Linked DNA regions of Homo sapiens: region 2 is linked to region 1. Evidence: promoter capture Hi-C in 16 types of primary human blood cells and fetal thymus (Javierre and others, 2016). All regions are on one chromosome and are shown on one strand. Each heading gives the region's core, a stretch centred on a gene start or on the middle of the fragment in contact. The rest is flanking DNA. Distances are from core to core; before and after follow the strand shown.

Region 1 (3,939 bases), core at 1,371-3,870:
AAAATGTAATAAAAACAAAAATCCCAATTATTGATTTGTGCTTCCTGATAGAAATTAGTCATAACTAGCCAGGCACAGTGGCTCACACCTGTAATCCCAACACTTTGGGAGGCTGAGGCAGGCGGATCACCTGAGGTCGGGAGCTCAAGACTAGCCTGACCAACACAGAGAAACCCCGTCTCTACTAACAATACAAAATTAGCCAGGCGTAGTGGCACATGTCTGTAATCCCAGCTACTCAGGAGGCTGAGGCAGGAGAATCGCTTGAACCCGGGAGGCAGAGGCTGTGGTGAGCCGAGATCGTGCCATTGCACTCCAGCCCTGGCAACAAGAGCGAACCTCCCTCTCAAAAAAAAAAAAAAAAGAAATTAGTCATAACTCTGTTTCAAAATAACTTTTTAATTAATGGGCAACACAAGTAAGAAGAATATACCACTTAACCAAAGTAAATGTAATTGTTACCACACAAATCACTATTGGACGCCAATGGAATAAACCATGATTATTATTTACACAAGATCACAAACAAAACTACTGGCTTGAAATATGTGTTCATTCTAGGACATTGCTAGAGCCTTTGAAAAAGAAAAATATATATATTAAAAATGAAAAATTTGTACATGAATTAATGTTTCCCCTTAATACATAACACATCTGTATGTCATAGGAAGATAGTAGGCATGGTGGTAGTAAGACAGTAAGAACACAGGCTGGAAACACAATGCTAATTGTGTGATATGGACAAATTACTTAAACTTCAATGTGCTTCAGTTTCCTCATCTGCAAAATAAAGATAATAAATGTATCCGCCTCACAGTGATGCTAGATGACTGAGTTGGCACATATAAGTCCCCGGATTCAGTGCCTGGCAGAGTACATGAATGCAGAGGAATAAATTTCAAATATTTTCACTGTTTTTTTAACTTTTTAAAGCCCTTTCACACATACTGTCTTTTCTTTTTCCTCCCAACAGTGCAATGAGATTGTTTGAATAAGAAATACTCACTTTAGAGATAAGACACCAATAGTGAAGTTGTATGATTACCCTAAGATATTTTTAAGTGGCAGAGTTTGGACTAGAATCCACCCATAACCTCAACCCCAGGACAAACTGACCAAATCTCCATGGATCCAGTTTGGAAGAATCTTTTGGGTTTTCCCCATTGCTTCCTCCTGGTTGTCAGCAACAGCCAGCCTAAAGACCTGGTGGGGGCAGATGCAGACGACCATGTGTTCAAATTAAAAAGTAGGAGAAGCCTAGCTTTCACAGAAACTGACACATAGTTGGCACTCCAGAGATTGCAGCTATTGATGACTGAAACACAAGCGCTATTACGTTTTTCTCAGTTACAGAACAAGGTACTACTCCATAAAATCAAGCCTACTACCAAAAACAAAAGTCAGTTAACATTATGCTTATCTGTCATATCAAGCATATCAAAGTACAATGTGCAACAGAAACCTAAACGAAAAAGTGATGATGTATTTTTACTTACTCTCAAAAAATATGTTTTACAAAAAGGGCTTTCATCAAGTCAGTTTTTTGAAAACTAACCCACGTAGTTATACTTCATGAGATGACGTTTCTTTGAACAAATAAGTTAATGATATGAATAAATATTTCATCTTGGTAATGCCTTCAACACATATCTTCAATACTTTTCTTGGACTTAAAGTGACTTCAATCCCTAATCTCATCTACTGCCATGTACACAAGAAACACAGTTAATGAACTTTAAAGGCAGATGCAGTATTTCCAGGGAAGCCACCTGAACCAGGGAAGTACAAGAAAGCAAAACATCTCCACAACCACATCTAAGTGCCTTATCTTTCAACTTCTTTTCTTCAAATGGGCAATTAGAAGCTACGATACACCTTAAAGATCAGGTTTGGCATCCGCCCTGGCTAGGGCCTACCTTTCTTTTCGCGGCACTGCCACTCTGGCACCTACAGGCAGGCCTTTGGCGCCTGCAGGACTCGCAGGGAAGACAACCCCAGCCCCTGCTCTCCACGGCTCTCGTCGAAGCCCCGCACGTGGTGACCACTTGAGACGTTTTAGTGCATGGGATTTAACAGGGTCAGACCTCAGGTTGCGTTCCGGGACAGTGCAGCTCCCAGACCCGCTGAGGTCGCAGGAGGAAGGTTTTGACGCTCCTAGCGTAAACACCGACGGGACCCTCTTCGCCCCGCGGCTACCTCGCCCTCGCCGCTCGCGCGGCCCCTCAGCACCTGACGCCTCAGCCAGCCTCCAGGAGTCGCTTCCCCGCGCCTCCTTCCACCTGAGCCAGCGACGCTACCGCCACCTGCACCGGGACCCCAAATGCCAGGCCAGTGGCCGTTACCCGAGGTCGCGGCCCGGGGAAGGTCCATGGCTCAGGAGGAAAAGCCCGGGCTGCAGCTCCCCTTCCTGCACCTCTGAGATCCCCCGGCCGCCGCCATTTTCCTCGCGCCGTAACCCCACCTGATAGTTCCAGCCTCCCACCTGTGACAAGCAGGGCACGCCGCGCGACGCCGAGTGGGGTGCGTGGGCAAGCTGGGGCTCCGTAGGGGTCACAACCTCCGTGCGGAACCCGCCGTTAATTCATCCCGTAACGCGGAGGCGTCCGGCCGTCGCCCTAGTAATGCGTCCCGGAAGGCTACGTCCTGATTGGCTGCAGGCGCCGTGACGCAACGGCGTCCCCGGCTGCGTGGGAAACCCGGGTCCCCGGCGCCCCGCGCTTGCTCCACAGCCCGGGATACCCCGGGTACCTTTCTTTGAGAGCTCCTTTAAAGAGGCCTCGCTTATTTCCTCGTCTGGCCTCCTGGAGAGGAGGGACCCACGGAACGGTGGGGTGTAGGGGTGAGAAAACAACGAAATAGGAAATTAGCGGAGGTCATTTGTCCGAGGGAACCTAATGGTTCATTCAACCCCTAGAGCTGCAAAATGGAAAACAGAAATCTGGGAGTTTAATTTACAAGCCTAAATTTGGTGCGCGAAGTCACAGGACAAATCAGTAGTAGAAGCAGTTATAGAACCCAGGTTCCCTGATCAGGAGCACAAAGTTTTTCTAGCACACTCAGTGTTTCCCCAGTCCTAGAAAATGTTTCCTCCCAGTTCCCATAGCAATTTCATCACACTGCTCTTAAAAGGTCTCGATCACCTATCATGGTGTGTCTGTCCTGTCCCCTAACCTACTAGATTGCATGCCCCTGAATGGTGGGGACTGTGGTTAAACCCCTTTTCATTTCCCTTAAGCAATTCCCTCCTCAACTTGGCCTTCAACAAATACAATAAGAATCTTAAAAATAATAAACATAGCTACACATCACACACAGCCACTCATCAGTAGTTCATGTATGTCTATACGTTTTATCCGTTTATTCAACAAAGCACAGAGTGAATATTTTTAAAATTACAAGGTTCCTGACCTCACAAAATTTATGGTGTAATAATAATGACCATCTACATGTTGGCTGCATAGCTTCAATATAGCTAAATTATATCCCCAAATTGCCTGTAAATCAAAGATTCTTGTGCTCTTTTCCTAAATTAGCTTCATAATTTCTCTAAGTTTGTTCCAAAACATTTTAATATTTAAGATGTGCTAAAATTGCATCAGAAAGTGAAGAATGACTACAGAGAGAAACACCAGAACAAAAGTCAATTCTGCCAATTATGCCTATGACTTTAGGCCTCCTTTTTACCTTTAAAATAAGATTACTGGAATAAAAGATCTCCCAATTCTTTTTTGTTGTTGTTAAGAGTTGGCCTGGCTATGCTCCAGAACCTTCAAGGGCTCTACTGTGGTTCTTTGGGGGCTTGCCGGAGGTTCCTCATAGCCTTTGCAGCTCCATTGCAGAGAGCTCTAGCATTGTGAGGTGTGTCCGGTGATACAGCCCAAGAGGCAAGGTTGCCCTTACCGCCCTAACCACAGAGGACAGTGCTGGGCTCTTTCTTTT
Region 2 (3,518 bases), core at 332-2,831, 210 kb after region 1:
TTCATTGTTGCTGTCGATGCCTGGACTCACTGTAGCTTCTGTATGTCCCCCACCTGGACTGACTGCACCACCTGTGTTCCAGATGTTTATGTAGATGCTGGGTTCTTACAAGGGCCCTGGACCCTGGGCACAGAGGCCAGCACAGCAGGTTGCACAGGGAAAGTGCCCCTAAATGTTGCTTGGTTAAATACTACAATCTCCCTTTCCTCTTCACCAGGCAACCAAGAGACCTTTCTGAAATCAGAAAAGCTGTGAAAAATTGTGACCAGAGTGCTCTGAAGTTCCAAGTAAGATATTTTGGAACTGGGGAGTGGTCCCCACCAAGGTAGCAGAAACAGATTTCCTGGGAGGGGGCTCTGAGAACTGGGCCCTCAGTCCAGCACCACAAGGGAAGATGTGTGGATCCTTTGCTCAGGCAGTGCTGAGATGTGTCAGGCACCCAGAGGTGATTTTATTTTCCTGCTGCCCTTGCAGCCCCAGGTTGGCCTTCCTCCCCCAGCTCCTTCCTCCCTCACCACCTGCCCTGAGTCTCAGGTCCAGCAGAATGGCCTGAAGGACTCGAAGCATTGAGAAAACGGCCCTATAGGGCCTGGCCCTTTATCCTGGGATGTATTTAAAAGGAAAATATGAAAAGCACACACAAGATGAACAGATGACTGCATTTGGAAAGGTTCTGTGATGGAAATCTAAAACCCAGAACCGAAAGAGAACCTCACCTGTAACCACAAAGAGATTCATTCTGACTCAGGGGCTTGGAAACTGCTACCCAAAACCCCCTGGCTGGTGGGCCAGGAAACTTCTACCCCTCCCACCAGGTTGAGGGGCCCTCAATTGTCTTCCTCAGACCCACTCTGGGGGAGGAGGGTAGAAAAGTCAAACGTAGCAAAGAGAGTTCCCCCTTGCTCCACACACCCCCTTCAAGCTAATGGCTACTTATTTCAAGACAGGCCTGCCAATATAGACAACACAAAGGGGCCTCCTTAGCCTCCCAAGCATGTCTGAAGTTAAGTGACCCTGCCTGAACTTTTAGCTTGGTTCTATCTGATTACTTTCCCTCCATGGCACCCACCCTGGCTCCCTGGCTTTCTATTTGATTTTTTTTTTTTTTTAATTTACAAAATAAATGTCCCTGGAACAGTTCTAAGGAATGACCAGCCAGAGTCAACCTAGACCCTAGCGGAACCAAGCCATGGTGTGGACACACAATACATCAGAAGAACAAGGCTCTGGGGTTAGACAGACCCAAGTCACTGACTCAGGCTGAGCCATTTCCTCATCTGTGAACAGGGTGAGGATCCCCGCCTGGGAGCTGTGGTAAGATGTGAGCAAGGCAGCGTCTGTAGAGTGCTTGGCGTGCAGTGGGCATACCTTCATGTCTGTAGCACGGACCCATGGACCCATCACACTCCCTTTCGACTTCCCTGGGCTGGCCATCCTACACAACTTCCCTAGCTCCAAGGTCTTCCTTAAGAAGAGACTCCTCCCTCCCCCCAGTTTAACAACATAGGAACTCTCCTCCAAAACCCCAAACCAGCTCACAGCCCAGAGGGAACTGCAGGTGCTCCATTGCTCCCACCCCCAACCCAGGGGCAGTAGAGAGGCAGCAGGGCAAGCCAGAGAGAGGGCTGGGGTAAGAGTCCAGAGGGCTCACTCTGGTCCCTTTTTGTGATCCTTGTGCATTTTGGATCCACCAGACAGGATGATCTCCAAGCAAGATCCCAGCAATAGCATCCCTGAGCTAGCCTCCCTTTGGGGAAAATATCTTCCTCTCTAAGTGGTTTGAATGTTAACTCTGAATCAACAGGTCAATAATCAACCCAAGGAAGAAAGCAGCATTGGACATGGCTATCCCCACCAGACCACCCTTCTGCAGAAGCCCCCGACAGCAATGCTTCTACTACCCCAGGCATGGCTGGGAAGGAAAGTTCTGGTCTCAATCGACTAAACAAATCATTTCCTCCTTTGCTGCGGTGAATGGCAAAGTTCACAGAGCCAGTAGGGTCAATTCATCACAATGGCTAATGCTTGCTGAGCCCTTATCTGTCCCAGACACTAGGAATGCTTCCTACACATCCACTTGTCATGGTGAATCTTTACCACAATCTTAGGAGATAAGGACGATTGTTGCCCCATTTTACAGATGAAGAAACTGAGGCTTACTGGCATTAGGGGACTCTGCCACAGTCCCACAGCTCTTATATGTGGCACTGGGATGCAAAACCAAGTCTGTCCTCACCCCCAGCAAAAACCACTAGGCTCTAGAGAGTCAGAGGGGAGCCAGGACTTACTCACCTGGTAGGAAAGGCCATCCTTGCGGGGGCTGAGGCCGATCTCCTCCATGGGCTGGGTGTTCATCATCACCTCAGTCATCTTGGCCGATCTCAGATAGTCGGGGCTGCCAAGAAACCCAGACCAAAAGTCAACAAACACACGCGCTTTCACATTCCTAACTCTTCATGCATTCACTGCTGTGGGATCAGGGGACTGTCTGGAGACAGGAAGAGAGGTGTTCAAAACAGAACTTGCAGCAAAACAAGCTCACACCCTGAGGAAGCGCCTTGCAAGCCCACAGCCCCAGGGCTCAGCCGCAACAGACAAAGCCCATTGTCTGCAGACCTCTCTGGCAAACCTCTTCCCTCCTCTCCTGTACTCTAGTCCCCACTGGCACAGAGGGACCCTGAATGTTTCTTTAAATGACAGAACCAGAGAAACCAAAACAGTAGGTAGCTGAGTCCATCTGTCTATATTAAAACCAATTCAACCACATCTCCCTTCACTTCTCCAACTAAGAATAAAAATAATCCTCACATGAACTTTCCAAAGGGGAACTCTATATATTATTAATACACAATAACAATAACAGGTCAACTGGAGGGAAACAAAGTCCAATCATACAGCTTTCCTAAATTTGTCTCTCTGGTGCTCCTTTTGGCAAAATGTTCCACTTAAAGCCCCAAGGGGTCAGCTTTTCTGCAAGTTTCACATCTGCCATCCATCCCCTTTCTCTAGCCCCAGACACAGCAGCTGCATGCTCACAGCTTGAAAAACATCCCCTGGATTAAAAGCCTTAAGGATACCCGACTCTGACTGCAAAGGAAATTTCCAGAGGGGCCAAGCTGGCCCACCAATGGCTGACATGTGAAAGTGCCTTGTACTCTCTAAGCAGGATACGAATATTCCCTTATCCTTGCACAAACTCTGGGCACATACAGGATCCCGTGCACATAATGCTGAACATAAGCACCAAATACAGGTACCTGCTACACAGCACCCAATGCTTTCCACCATCGTGCCTGTGCACATGGTTTAAAACAAAAATATGGGGGAGTCTTTTGAGGGACAGTATCTAAGGAAACAGGGGTACCAGATGCCTCTTCAATTGTATGGTTACTACATAGATAAGAAATGACACTGGATTTAGAAACAGAAGCAATAGGTTCTAGGCTCTGCCCCTCAAGAACTGTGTGATCTTGAACAGGTCCTGTAACTTCTCTGAGCCACAAGTGTCCTGTTTGTCT

Evidence for each region. Contacts are between HindIII fragments. The CHiCAGO score rates a contact against its expected background, and 5 or more counts as called.
Region 2: a contact is called between a fragment that was not itself captured here and the fragment with the promoter of LCLAT1 in region 1, in 1 of 17 cell types (non-activated CD4 T cells). The highest score is 6.5, in non-activated CD4 T cells.

Annotation. Positions count from the first base shown.
Region 1 is chr2:30,445,927-30,449,865 of GRCh38, reverse strand. LCLAT1 (lysocardiolipin acyltransferase 1) reads right to left here and starts at 2,620. Exons shown (of 6, transcript NM_001002257.3): 1 at 2,483-2,620. RefSeq lists enhancers at 1,456-2,192, 2,390-2,509, 2,720-2,779, 2,820-2,889, 2,193-2,930. The HindIII fragment of the contact is 6,952 bases long and covers 1-3,939 here.
Region 2 is chr2:30,233,282-30,236,799 of GRCh38, reverse strand. LBH (LBH regulator of Wnt signaling pathway) reads right to left here. Exons shown (of 3, transcript NM_030915.4): 2 at 2,293-2,395. Among named protein-coding and RNA genes, the nearest start is that of LBH, 3.5 kb to the right of the region's middle. RefSeq lists a silencer at 364-571. The HindIII fragment of the contact is 4,276 bases long and covers 1-3,518 here.